Regions from separate parts of the Homo sapiens genome. Here all the other regions are linked to region 4. Evidence: promoter capture Hi-C in 16 types of primary human blood cells and fetal thymus (Javierre and others, 2016). All regions are on one chromosome and are shown on one strand. Each heading gives the region's core, a stretch centred on a gene start or on the middle of the fragment in contact. The rest is flanking DNA. Distances are from core to core; before and after follow the strand shown.

Region 1 (2,700 bases), core at 53-2,552, 150 kb before region 4:
TGAAACAAGAAAGAGGAAGTGCGGAGGTCCAAAAAACAAGGGGTCTAAAACAGGAAAACAGTGGGGGGAAGTTCCAGGATGCCAGCAGGGTAGGACACAAAGAGAACCAGCAGTACAGATAGCAACGCAGGCAAGGGGGCTCTAGGACAGGGCTTTGGGAAAGTAAAGCATTACAAAAAAATAATATCTGGTCTATTTTATCATTTTGATTAGGAGTTGACAAACTGCAGTCCGTGGACCAAATCCTGCCTACCACCTGCTTTTGTAAATAAAGGTTTTTTGGAACATGGCCAGCTGCCCCCCTTCATTTACATATTGTCTGCAGCTCAGTTGCATATTGCCCATGACTTTAACAGCTGAGTTGAGTAGTTGCAACAGAGGCTGTCTGGACCAAAAAGTCTAAAAATATTTACTATATGATCTTTTATAGAAAGAGTTTGCCAACGCCTGATTTAAAAGGAAAAACTAATTAGTGATCTGATGGAATGGGTGAAAAAAAGATAAAAATAAATGTAGAACAAACAACACCAACTGGAGGTAAACAGGCAATTTTAGGAAGAATAAAGTTGGACAAGAAAATATATGATCCTAGTATACTACTTGGACTCTGCAAATAATTTTTGTATAATCATAAAAACATAAACAATGATTTGGATTTATCCAAAAATTGTGAAATGAATATTAAAGCAAGAGGAGAAATGAAGAGATGTATAGAAGATCTAAATTTTCCTTTTATAGCAGAAAATCAGTAGAAGTCTAATATTAATAAATCAATATATAACAATATAAGCATATTTGCTAGAAATACTGAGGCATGTATTAGAAGAGACAGCTAGCACAGTTCCAAGTGATTTCTCTGGAGAGCAGGACCAAGTGAGGTAGAGATTCATAGGCAGAGCACTGCTGTTTTCATTATAAACCTTCAGCATGTTTTTTAACTTGATAAAGTGGCAGTTAATTTCCAAAAATACTCAATCTCAAAAATTATAAAATATGATAGGTATTATGAAGCCCTAAAACGAGGTACCATGAGAGAGAATAATGGAGGTAGATAAACTATAAGCTTACTTTAGTCTGCAGGGAAGGTGGTTCTAAGAAGATGACATTTAAACTGAGAACTTGAAAGCTAGCCAGTCAGCCAGTTTAGGGGAATGGGCCTCCAGGTAGAAGGACCAGCATGTGCAAAGGCTTGGGTGTGAGAGCGAGCTCCGTTGGGACTTAAAGGATCTGAAGTCGTTACGATCAGCTGAAGGGGAGAGTGTGCCTGCAGAAGCCCTCAGGAGCAAACTTGCAAAGACAGCAGGAAAGAGACCATGAAGCATTTGTACCCTATCCAAAAAGCAACGCTGAGTCACTGGATGATGCCATAAACACAAGAATGTGTCGCAAGACTGAGACCAACATTTGGCATATGTTTCTTCCTTTTAAGATTTTTGCCTATAAACAGATTCCAGTCCATAACCTAACAAAAGAAGTTACCGTACTGTCAGAAAGTGGAGCCAGACTGTATGTGTTTCCTGTAGGATGACATGTCAAGCTTAGACATAAGCCAGCAAGGGGACCTCCCCAATGTCCTTGCTGGATTTGGAAGTGGCCATGTGCTACTCAGGGATTGCCTGCTCTCATCAACTATGTGACAGCTTCTTCTTCTCAAGTAAACTCCTACTTTGCTCCTTATACATACCCACTACTTTCCCTTAATCCCTCCTGGAATTTTGGATGCAAGATTTCCTACAATCTCTCCTTGGGCTCCTATGGGCCTCTCTTTGACTAAATCCAAAGTCTTGGTCTTGGCCATCACTGCATTGGCTTCCTAAATGCCCTCTTTATCCGCTCCTCATTCTGTTTCAGATGTCTCAATACAGATGAGTCTCTCAAGGAAGGACCCAAGAGATACTCTCTCCCTACCTCCATGAGGAAAATGGAACCCAGGGAGAGCAGCAAGCTGATAGCAGAATCAGGATCACAATGCAGATTGCATTGCTTTGCTTGTGAGGAGACCCCTTCAAGACTGCTGAAAAGAAGCCATCACATGCCCTTGGCCAGAAGCCTGGCATAGTGAAATTCCGAGAGGTGGAGTTCCTTTTTTATTTTTTTCTATTATGATTTTCCTCTATTAAAGAAATAGCAATTAATATTTGAGAAAATGTGCTCTAATTACATTTTGCAATCCATGCCCTTGGGTTAAAGTGAACCCAGATGTAATTATTTTTGTGAAATAGCTCTTAACTCTCTGCATATTAAGTCTTGCTTCCTTTAAAAGCAGCAGGATGCCTTCACATCATTGCTGTTGGCATTTTCTTGTCAGAATTACTAAGGATTAATTACAAATTACTTTTATTGCACTGGGAGTAGGCAGCACAGAATCAACAATGTCTCCTAAACGTTAATGTAGTCAGTAGTTTTCAGTCATTTTGGTCTCAAAACTCCGTAGCCTTTTAAAAATTGAGGACTCCAAAAAACTTGTGTGCATACGGCTTTATCTATGAATATTATTAGAAATAAAAACTGAGAAACTTAAAAAATCTGTACTTATTAATTTATTTTAAAACAACAGCAATAATCCTGTTGCAGTGGGATTCATGGGTTATTATTATTTTAAAATAAATTAATAGGTAAAGAGTTACAGAAATAGTTTAACATATTTTTATGAAAAAATAACATTTAAAAAAATGCTAAGAGCAACATTGGTTTTAGAGT
Region 2 (2,700 bases), core at 39-2,538, 240 kb before region 4:
ATAAACAGGAGAGAACAGAGAAAAGTCATGACTCAGGGGTCTTCTTCTCACAGGGCTGAGTAATCACAGGAGCTTTGGATGCAGGCAGGCTGGCGCTCTGATCCTGACTCTTTCAATTACAGACTGTGTTACCTTGGACAATTTGGCTAAGTCCTTATGCAAAAAAAGTATGATGCCATTTACTTAATAGGGTTGTGAGGATTAAATGAGATAATTCATATAAAGCCCATAGCGGAAGGCCTGGCAGGTAGCAAGGGCCCAGCAAATGAGAGCTATTCACGTTGCCATTAATGCATCATCATCGTTACAATTATCATCTTTTTTTTTTTACGTTCCAAAGATTCTTCCTTCTATCTATTATCTCATCATATCTCATCTCATCATATCATATCTCATCATTTTATCCAGAGATACACTTCCTTGTTCTTTGGCCAAATGTTCGAGCTATACCAAGTAGGGAGATAATGGAGAAGCAGCACGTCTATCTATACACATTAATATTTATAAAATGCTACATGTGAATAATCAGTACGGTGATCAGCAAGGATAAAGGAGAGAGCTGGCAAGATTAACATGCTACTGTTTATGAAGCTCTCTAACTTTGATACTCATAACAACTCTGAAAGGCACCTAGAGTGTCCTTGGAGTTTAATTACCTTTTTCCATAGGAGCTGTTTCAAGGAGAAAAAAAAAAAAGATGGTTAATAATATGACTCTTAGGCCCAGAGTGATGGCTCACACCTGTAATCCCAGCATTTCAGGAGGCTGAGACAGGAGGATCACTTGAGTCCAGGAGTTTGAGACCAGCCTAGGCAACATAGTAAGACCCTACCTGTGCAAAAAAAAAAAAAAAAAAAAATCAAAAACTTAGCCAGGTGTGGTGCCTCATGCCCGTAGTACCAGCTACTCTGCAGGCTGAGGCAGGAAGATCTCTTGAGCCCAGGAGGTTAAGGCTGTGGTGAGCTGTGTTCGTGCCACTGCATTCCCACCTGGACGACAGAGCAAGACTCTGTCTCAAATAATGATAATAATAACAGTAGTAATAATATGACTCTTTGTAATAATAATAATACTAAGATGAACATGACTTTTTAAAGAGAAAAGGAAAAACCTCCAACAAGTCAAGTAAATTATTTCATGAAACTGAGGGAGATGCAGAGACATAGCATTCGCTGGAGATGGCTGCTTCAAAGGGAACCAGGGGACAGAACCACAAAATCACCAGGAGAGATAAAAGGGACCTGAGAGATGATGTAGCTCAACCTCTTCTGTTTGTGCATGAAGACTCTGAGGACCAGAATGGTGAAATGATTTTTCTATGATCATAGAGCTAGATTTGGAGTAAAGCCCAATGACCAGCTTATTCTAATACTATTTAAAATGAGCAGTCTGGATGAGAGAAAACCAATGCATATAGCTACTTGCCATCTCTGACAGGCATAGGCATGACATTTGCCAAAACCTCTCCTTTTTGTCTAAAGATAGATATTTTATATTGTTAAGTTTTCAGGACCTAATAAGTGGCAAGAAATCACCCATGTAAAAATAATAATCAGTATTTGTAGGCTTGGAGAAAATGCTAGAATCCAGGCAGCAACCTAGTAAGAGGGAAAAACCCTGTTTCTTATTAACAGGGACACCCTATCCTGGGATGCAGGTCTCAGTCTCCTCCTCCCTGTGGCTGCCCATAAAACGACTCCAGATCAGAGGCAGAGCCTTGATTTTGATCTTGGTTTATAAACAGTGTTCTTCGAAGTTTACTTCTTCTGATCATTGATTTGTTTTGCTGATCTTTTTTTTCTAGAAGCCCTGCAGTTCTAAAGCAAAAAAGAGAATGAATAATCATGAATTGAATTTTTTTTAAGAACAACAAAAAAAAAAGGCAAGGCAGACCCTGCTCTTTTGGAAAGCCCTCTCTTTGATTTTCTTCTCTAGAGCCTAGTAGCTTATAGCCAAAGAGAGGTGCCCATGCGCGTGCGTGCTTGTGTGTGTGTGTGTGTGTGTGTGTGTGTGTGTCTACATGCCTGTGCTCCAGGACCAGGAGAAGACAGGAAAGGGGGCTCTTGAGCACAGAAGATGCCTAATTTCTATCTTCACCTCATCAAGTTTATAAATTTCCCCTTTTGTTTTTTTTTTTTAATCCTTTCTCCTCTCCTCTCTTCCTCCCTCATACCATTGTAAACTCTTCTCTGTAATGTCCTATCCCTCTTCCTCCTGAGAAGGCCCTGCTGTAGCTCCTCCTCTCACTCACAAGGTACCTCTCCATAGCACAAGCTGCCAGCCCTGGGTGCCCAGGGCAGTAGAAAGGGCAGTGGGAGACAGTGTTGCCTGGTGGTTAAGCCAACAACCATGGGACAGTGTCCTTGGAGTTTCATCATGGCTCTACCTCAATTCCTTCATCTGGAAAATAGAATTTAACTCAAAGGTCAGCCACGAGGTTTACATAAGATCATGAATGTCAAGTATTTAGCAGAATTTCTTTACCCACAGTAACCATATTAGCTATTAATGTGTTTGGCCATAAGATACACCTACTAAAATGTACCTACACCAATGAGGTTTTCAGTCAAAGCAATAGTGCGAGTACACCAGGTTGGCAGAGGGAAGTCCTCAGTGCCTGAGTTTATACACCTCACTGTTTTTTGTTTGTTTGTTTGTTTGTTTTTTCCCAGTTAGACTCATCTCGATCTTTCCTAGGGG
Region 3 (2,700 bases), core at 118-2,617, 160 kb before region 4:
CATGAGCTCTTCGAAGAATGTGAATTCTACAGTTGTTGGGTGGAGAGTTCTATTATTAATGTCAATTAGATTAATTTGGTTGATATTGTTCAATTCTTCTATATTTGGTGATTTTCTGTCTTTTTTTGTCGACTACTTGAAAAGGAATGTTGGAGACTACAAATATAATTGTGAATTTGTCTAATTCTTCTTCGAGTTGTGTTCATTTTTGTTTCATGTATTTTAAAGCTCTGTTAATTGGGTACAAATTAGGATGGTTATGTTTTCTTGATGTTCACATCATTATAAAGTATCCCTCTTTAGTCCTGATAATATTCCTTCCTTTGAATTCTACTTTATCTGATATTAATATATCCAGTCCACCTTTCTTATGATTGGTATATGCATATTGTATCTTTTTCAGTACTTTTCATTTTAACTTATCTGTATATTTATAAATAGTTTCCTTATAAGCAGCATATAGTTGGTCTTGCATTTTATCCAATCTGAAATCTCTGCCTTTTAATGGGAGCATTTAGACTATTTATACTCAATATAATTATTGACATAATTGGGTTTAAATTTATCTTTTTGTTATGTGTTTTGAATTTATCCCATATGCTCTTTCTTCCCCTTTTTCTTCTTTCCTACCTCCTTTTGGATTAATTGCATATTTTCTATCATTCTATTTTAAATCCACTATTGACTTATAAGCTATACTTTTTTGTTTATTTCTTTGTTCACTAAGGTTCATAACATGCATCTTAATTTTATCACAGTCTACTTTCAATTAACATTATATCACTTCACATATAAATTTAAAATCTTGCAACAGTATTCACTTCCTAATATACTGTGAGTTATTTTATTATAAAATTTATTCTTACATAGCTTAAAATTCTCAATACATTGGTATGATTTTTGCTTTAAACAATCAATTATTTTTAAGAACTATATAAATTTAACAAATAAAAAAGTATTTTATATTTACCATGTCTGGAGCTTTTTATTTTTGTGTGTAGATCCAAGTTTTCATCACTTATTTTTCTTCCATTTAAGGACTTAAATTTTTAAAAAACATTTCTTGTTATGCAGGTCTCCTAGCCACAAATTTTCTGGTTTTTTTTTTTTCCAGAAAAAAAAAATTATTTTGCCTTTAATTTTGAATAATGTTTTGGTCAGATATACAATTTTAAGTTTATAATTTCTTTCAGCATTTTAAAGATGTTTTTCCATTCTTCTGAAATACATAGTTTCTGAGGGGAAATTAATTTGTATATTTGTTTCTTTATGCATATTTTTTCTATTTTTAAGGTTTTTCTCTTCACTTGTTTTCAGGAATTTAATTAATATGGGTTTTTTGTGTGGCTTTCTTTGTGTTATTTCAGCTTGAGGTTTATTGAGTATCTTGGATCTGTGAATTTATATTTTTTATGAAATTCATAAAATTCCTAGTCATTGTCCTTCAAATATAAATGTTGATATAAGTAGCTAACATTTGATAAATGTACATTTTAAATCAGCAGCAAAAATATGTATATAAATGCTATAAATTAAGTGGTTTGGAATAATGAGCTATCTCTTTTTTCAAAAAAAAAATGGATCTTTTCCTCACTTCATTCACAAAAACAAATTGGTTTTATATTAACAACCTCATGTAAAAAATGGAAATATAACAGTTTTCAGTGAAAATAAAAGGATTAGTTTAGATACTTAGTATAAAATATTCAAGTTGTTGATCAAGCAAACCCTGTATTTATACAAAAATTAACTAGTGGCCAACTAGGTAGGCACTCCCTGATCATCACCCAAAATCAAATCTACCATACATGATTGTGAAGTTTATGGTAAGCAAGCTCAAAATATTTTTATTAGCTGTTCTTGAAAGAAAAATTATGAAATTATGAAAGTTGTGTACTCTTTTCTTTTTTTTTTTTTTTTTTTTTTTTTTGAGACTTTTTCACTCTGTCACCCTGGCTGGCATGCAGTGGTGAAATAATAGCTCACTGCAGCCTCAACCTCTTGGGCTCAAGTGATCCTTCTTCTTCAGCCTCCCAAGTAGCTGGGTCTACAGGCATATGCAACCATGCCCAGCTAATTTTTAAGTCTTTTACAGAGACTGGATTTCACTATGTTGCCCAAGTTGGCCTCAAACTCCTGGCCTCAAACAATCCTCCCAACTCTGCCTCCCAATGCTGGAATTACAGGAGTGAGCCACTGTGCCCAGCCCTCTTTTGAAAATGTTCCCGTGTATTAAGTTCAGCTACAACAATTTGTAAACCAAAAATAAGAGTGTTTTAAACAAAATAGAAATATATCTGTCTCTCATGCTTATGTAAACATACACAGTTAAAAGCCTGCATAGAGGCTTGACTATTGGCAGATAACCTGGACACCATGCTTCTCAATGCACTGCAATTCTCAACATGTAACTCCATTTTATGATCCAAGTTCCAAATATCTTACCCATTTATCCATTTTATCTTAGTCAGCCAGAAGGAGATATTGGAAGGAGAAAATTATGTCCTCTCACTCTAAGATTTCCTGGAAAAAAAAAAAGTCAACATTAATTCTATTTCCATCCCATTGGTCAGAATTGAGCACATCTAGCTGCAAGGAAGTCTGGGAAATGTAGTTTGTTCTGGGCTTCTGTATCCAGGTGATTCTAGGTGGTGCATTATTGAGGAAGAAGTGGAGAACAAATACTCGGGGACAAGCAGC
Region 4 (2,700 bases), core at 168-2,667:
GTGACAGTGAGCAGGGACCAAGCCATGAAAGGCCTTTCCAAGTAGCCTGAAGAGTCCAGGCTGTGACATAACCAGAAGTAGCAACTGGATGGAGGCGCTAGTAAAACTGGTTTCTGCCGTACATCACAGGCCATTCCTTAAACTTTCCTATTATTTCTAGAACCCATCTTTTCCCAGGGTCCTTTACTTTCCTCTGAGATCAACCCTCCCTGAGCTCTAAGGCCGAGTTCCAACACCACCTCTTTCTCCAGGAAGCCCCCTCAACCCCCTCACTGCAGGGTCTTACCCACTCCTGGGTAAAGACAGTGCAGGTATTTATGAACATGCATGATCCAGCAGTACCTATGGTGAAGTGTGATGGTGAAGAAGCCAGCAGCCAGCCTGCCTGAGTCCCAATCCTGGCTCTACCACTTGCCGTCTGTGCTTTATTTTCTTATGTGTAAAATGAGAATGATAGCTTTATTGTCACAAAATTTATCTCAGGATTGAATAATTTTATTGATGTATTTAACTTAGAGCAGTGATTGGCACAAAGTAAGCACTTAATAAATATAATCTTTTATTACATGTTGTGGCCCCCACACCCAACTGCAGGCAAAGCACATCACATGATCAATTAACTTTAGACTAATCAGGGAGTAGTGGTTAATGTTCTACCCTCACAGACAGTCACCTCGATCTGTGGCCTCATACTCTGATTAAACAATGGTCAATGCAGACTGGAAATACTTTCCTTTCATGGGCAGTCATGTGCTAGAGGTTACAACTCCAAGCCGTGATTTAGAACTAGGTCATCTTCCTAGCTCCTCTGTCTTCATCCTTGGATGACCTAGGACAAGTGCCTTCACCTTTTAGAACTTTGCTATTCCCATCTGTACACTGAGAATGAATTTCTATGAGGTTCAAAATGACAGAGGGCTAGGCAGCACTTTGCAAAGAGCTGATGCAAATGTGATTTCCGTTTCCCAATCTGCAAACCACACACCTCTCATCCCTCACTTTCACTTCCAGAAGCACACTCCCCAGACTGGCACAGCTGGTAAGCCTCCAGTGCAGGGAACAGGTATATTTTAATTTGCCCCACCCACTGACTTGATGAATTCTTTCTCTCCTCCTTCAGGGACTTTCCTAACTTCCTTCTGTAAACGAAGGAAGGAGCACATGAGCATACTGTATATAAATATGCTTGGGAAAGCTTTCTTCTTCTCCTTCTTCTTCTTTTTTTTTTTTTTTTTTTTTTCCTCAAACCAAACTTGGTTTCTGTTGTAGGCGGTGCATTCTCTAGCAGGGTAGGGCCACAGTGTGCTCTTGAAGAGGGGAGGGGAGAGGAAAAGGGAAGGAGGAGACTGAGTGATTAAGTCACCCACTGTGAGAGCTGGTCTTCTATTTAATGGGGGCTCTCTCTGCCCAGGAGTCAGAGGTGCCTCCAGGAGCAGCAGGAGCATGGCCGAGGATCTGGGACTGAGCTTTGGGGAAACAGCCAGTGTGGAAATGCTGCCAGAGCACGGCAGCTGCAGGCCCAAGGCCAGGAGCAGCAGCGCACGCTGGGCTCTCACCTGCTGCCTGGTGTTGCTCCCCTTCCTTGCAGGACTCACCACATACCTGCTTGTCAGCCAGCTCCGGGCCCAGGGAGAGGCCTGTGTGCAGTTCCAGGTAAGCCACATGGCACTCTGACCTTGGGGAGGAGCAGTGGACTCTCTGCAGTGAGTGGCAACTATTTCAGCTCTGGACAGAGGATAGAGTTTCTTGATGTATCACATTTCTTGTTTCTACATGCAGAGGAAATGTAGAGTGGGAGGGGTGGAGAGGTTCAATTTGGTGTTTATTCTCAATATTTCTAGGGAATGAACAGTCCCTTCTTTTACTGTGGGGATAACCTTCAGCCTCATATTTTTTAGATAATTATAATCATAGTATACTGGTAATTTGGGAAGATTCTTTTTATTTAAGAAAAAAACTTAAAATTACATAACTAACACGGTCATTGAAAAAAGTTAGAAAATACAGATAAGGAGAGGAAGAAAGTCATCATTACCCATAACTCTTATAGCTGACCACTGTTAACAGTTTGGGATATATAATTCTGTACAGAATTATATGCCAGATATAAAACGGATTTTTTAATGAGACGAGATTATTCTGAGTCTGCTAATATATTATGATTTTATTTATATGCTAATGAATTCACAACAACATGATGCTATAGATACACATTCCTATATGTGGATGCTATAATTTCTTTACCCACTCTTTTTCTTGGGTTTAGAACTTTTTCTCTTTTTAGAGCTTAAGAAAGAACCTCCTGCCTGGTTGTCTATCTCTAAGGTCTTGCTGAGGCCTGGGAGAAGCCTAGTCAGAAAAAGAATATGAAGTCTAGGGAGAACAATGGTAGGGGCAGCGATAGGTGTCAAGAAGAAAACATAATTCTTGGCTGGGAACAACAAAGATGTACCTCAAAACCTAAGGAATGAGTCTTTCCAGTAATATCCTTTTTAAAAATGTCCCTTCATAATCTATGGTGGCTGATTTCATTTCAGTTCAAAGTATTAAATTGCAAAGGGAAAAAAATGGGTTTTCAATGGGTTTAACTGGAAACCTAGCCTCTAAGCAATCCTGGCCAGTTTCAAAGCATAGACACCACAAGTAAGCCATGGAAAATCTGTAATTCTCGCTGCCCCATCAGGGTCAACAAACAGACTG
Region 5 (2,700 bases), core at 36-2,535, 190 kb before region 4:
TTGTCTTTGATCCCAAAAGACATCTGTGCTGGCACCGGCTTTGCCATCTGCACTGCTGAGTAAGGAGCGAATGTTCAAACAGCTTCACCCATGGAGTCCAAGGAGGACGGGAAATTCCCCTGGAAGTCCAAAGTGAACCGAGGCCAAACTCTGGGCTTTTTCTGAGCAAACATTTTGAGAGAAACCAAAGTGATGATGATATAGAAGAACAACCGGGGCTGTCCCCTTGCACCGAAGCAAGACTGATGAAAACACAGGGATTAGTACAGATGATTCATTGCCAGTCCTTTCCCTGAGAGTGTTTGCTAGTGGCGACCCAATAAATACCGGATCTCCAAAAGCGCTGACAATTTGCAGACCGGGCCTGGGAGTTATAGAAATCACTTCCGAAATTGGTGGGAGGAAAAAGCGAGGTATGGAGACACGGGGGCGTATCCCTCTTCCAGAATTCACGTTCCTTCCTTTGGTAAGATACTTTCCTCCTCCTAAGTGTGGGTGACTCTAGAATCTAGATGAATGGTGCCTGAGATCCCAAACTTGCATCCCTCCTGTGTGGGTGAGAATTCATGTTTCTCTGTGAGTTCTGCCTCTGACCCCGATGAGGAGGGGTGGGAAGCTGTGGAGGCAAGTGGGGGAGCTGCCTCACGTCTGATTATTAATAGTGAGGAAAAACTAAAGGTCTCTGGAGTGCTGCTTCAGACAGAACCTACAGTGAACAGAGCTTTAAAACAGGCAGTACTCTGTTCAGTATCTTGACTGTGAGGGTGGATCCACAAATCTACATTTGTGATAAAATGTATACAAGTAAACACAGAAAGAGAGAGACAGAGGAAAGAGAACGAGTTAAACAGGGGACATCTACATGAGACCAGTGGATTGCATCAATCTCAATATCCTTGTCTTAATTTCCTATTGTGCTATAGTTTGGCAAGATACTACCATTGGGGGAAACTGGGCAAGGAGTACACAGATTTTTTCCGTATTATTTCTATTTTTAAAAACAGTTTGTTTTTTTATTGATTCAAATACCATACAATTCACTCGTTCAAATTCTACAATTCAATGACTGTTAGTGTATTCACAGAGTTTTGTGTCTATCACCCCAATCAATTGTAGAGAATTTTCATTATCCCAAAAAGAAACCCCTCACTCCTTAACCATTACTTTCTGACCCCACCATTTCCCAAGCCATAGGCCACTGCTAATCTACTTTCTGTCTCTGCAGATTTGCCTATTGTGTAAATTTCATATAAGAAGAGTCATAAAATTATGTGGTCCTTTATAACTGACTTATTTTACTGAACATTTATTGTAGCATGTGTCAATATTTCATTTTTTTATTACTAAATTATTATCCATTGTATTTATTTATTCCTCATTTGACAGACATTATTTGGGTTTTTCCGATTTTTGGCTACTATGGATAATGTTACTATGAATATTCATGTACAGGTCTTTGAGTGGACATATGTTTTCAGTTGTCTTGAGTATATACTTAGGAATGAAATTGCTGAATCTATGGTAACTAACTCTACAATTAACCTTTTGACAAACTATCAGACTGTTTTCCAAAACATCTGCATCATTTTACATACCCATCATTGGAAGGAGGATTCCAATTTCTCCATATTCTCATCAACGGTTGTTATTATTAGTCTTTTTTTATTATGACCTCCTAATGGGTGTGAAGTGGTATCTTATTGTGGTTTTAATTTGCATTTCCCTGATGGCTAATGAGGTTGAGCGTCTTTTCATGTGCTTATTGGCCATTTGTGTATTTTCTTTGGAAAAATGTCTATTCCAACTCTTTGCCCACCTTTTAATTAGGTTATTCATCTTCTTATTATTGATCTCTATTATTTCTCATAATTGCATGTGAATTTATAATTATCTCAATAAAAATTTCCATTTTAAAAAAAGGATGTTGGGGAAAAATGGAAGGGAATTCAGAGGAAAAAAGTACAGTCATGCATCACACTCAATTCTGAAAAATCCATCATTAGGCAATTTTGTTGTTGTACAAACATCATAGAGTTCACTTACACTAACCTAGATGATACAGCCTACTACAAACCTAGGCTATATGGTATAGCCTATTGCTCCTAGGCTACAAACCTGTATAGCATGTTACTGAGCTGAATACTGTAGATCATTGTAACACGGCGGTAAGTACTTATGTATCTAAGCATAGAAAAAGTACAGTAAAAATAAACTATAAAAGATTTAAAAATGGTACACTTGAATAGGGTGCCTACCATGAATGGAGCTTGCAGGACTAGGAGTTGCTCTGTTGGTGAATGAGGGGTGAGCAAACATGAATGTCTAGCACATTACCGTACATTACTGCAGATTTTATAAACACTGTACACTTAGGCTATGCTAAATTTATTTTTTAAATTTTTTCTTTCTTCGGTAAGTTAACCTTAACTTACTATAACATTTTCACATTATAAACTTTGTAATTTTTTAAAACTTTTTGAGTCTTTTGTAAAATACTTAGTGTAAAACAAACACATTGTACAGTTGTACAAAAATAGTTGATTTCTCTATATCCTTATTCTGTAAGCTTTTTCTATTTTTTTTATTTTTTTACTTTTAAAACTTTTTGTTAAAAACTAGATACAAATACGCACATTAGGTTAGGCCTACACAGGGTCAGGATAATTAATATCACTGTCTTCCGCCTCCACACCTTGTCCC

Evidence for each region. Contacts are between HindIII fragments. The CHiCAGO score rates a contact against its expected background, and 5 or more counts as called.
Region 1: a contact is called between a fragment that was not itself captured here and the fragment with the promoter of TNFSF15 in region 4, in 7 of 17 cell types (naive B cells, total B cells, non-activated CD4 T cells and 4 more). The highest score is 8.4, in naive B cells.
Region 2: a fragment that was not itself captured here is called in contact with the fragment with the promoter of TNFSF15 in region 4 in 2 of 17 cell types (monocytes and neutrophils); the score reaches 6.9 in monocytes.
Region 3: a fragment that was not itself captured here is called in contact with the fragment with the promoter of TNFSF15 in region 4 in 8 of 17 cell types (total B cells, monocytes, non-activated CD4 T cells and 5 more); the score reaches 8.1 in total B cells.
Region 5: a fragment that was not itself captured here is called in contact with the fragment with the promoter of TNFSF15 in region 4 in 12 of 17 cell types (total B cells, neutrophils, monocytes and 9 more); the score reaches 9.4 in total B cells.

Annotation. Positions count from the first base shown.
Region 1 is chr9:114,952,775-114,955,474 of GRCh38, reverse strand. No RefSeq gene overlaps it. Among named protein-coding and RNA genes, the nearest start is that of TNFSF8, 24 kb to the right of the region's middle. The HindIII fragment of the contact is 474 bases long and covers 1,066-1,539 here.
Region 2 is chr9:115,043,701-115,046,400 of GRCh38, reverse strand. The region is part of intron 17 of TNC (tenascin C); the gene reads left to right. Among named protein-coding and RNA genes, the nearest start is that of TNC, 73 kb to the left of the region's middle. The HindIII fragment of the contact is 7,382 bases long and covers 1-2,700 here.
Region 3 is chr9:114,969,407-114,972,106 of GRCh38, reverse strand. No RefSeq gene overlaps it. Among named protein-coding and RNA genes, the nearest start is that of TNFSF8, 40 kb to the right of the region's middle. The HindIII fragment of the contact is 3,315 bases long and covers 1-2,700 here.
Region 4 is chr9:114,804,756-114,807,455 of GRCh38, reverse strand. It overlaps TNFSF15 (TNF superfamily member 15), which reads left to right and starts at 1,417. Exons shown (of 4, transcript NM_005118.4): 1 at 1,417-1,653. The coding sequence starts at 1,444. The HindIII fragment of the contact is 3,139 bases long and covers 1,198-2,700 here.
Region 5 is chr9:114,997,819-115,000,518 of GRCh38, reverse strand. No RefSeq gene overlaps it. Among named protein-coding and RNA genes, the nearest start is that of TNFSF8, 69 kb to the right of the region's middle. The HindIII fragment of the contact is 2,567 bases long and covers 2-2,568 here.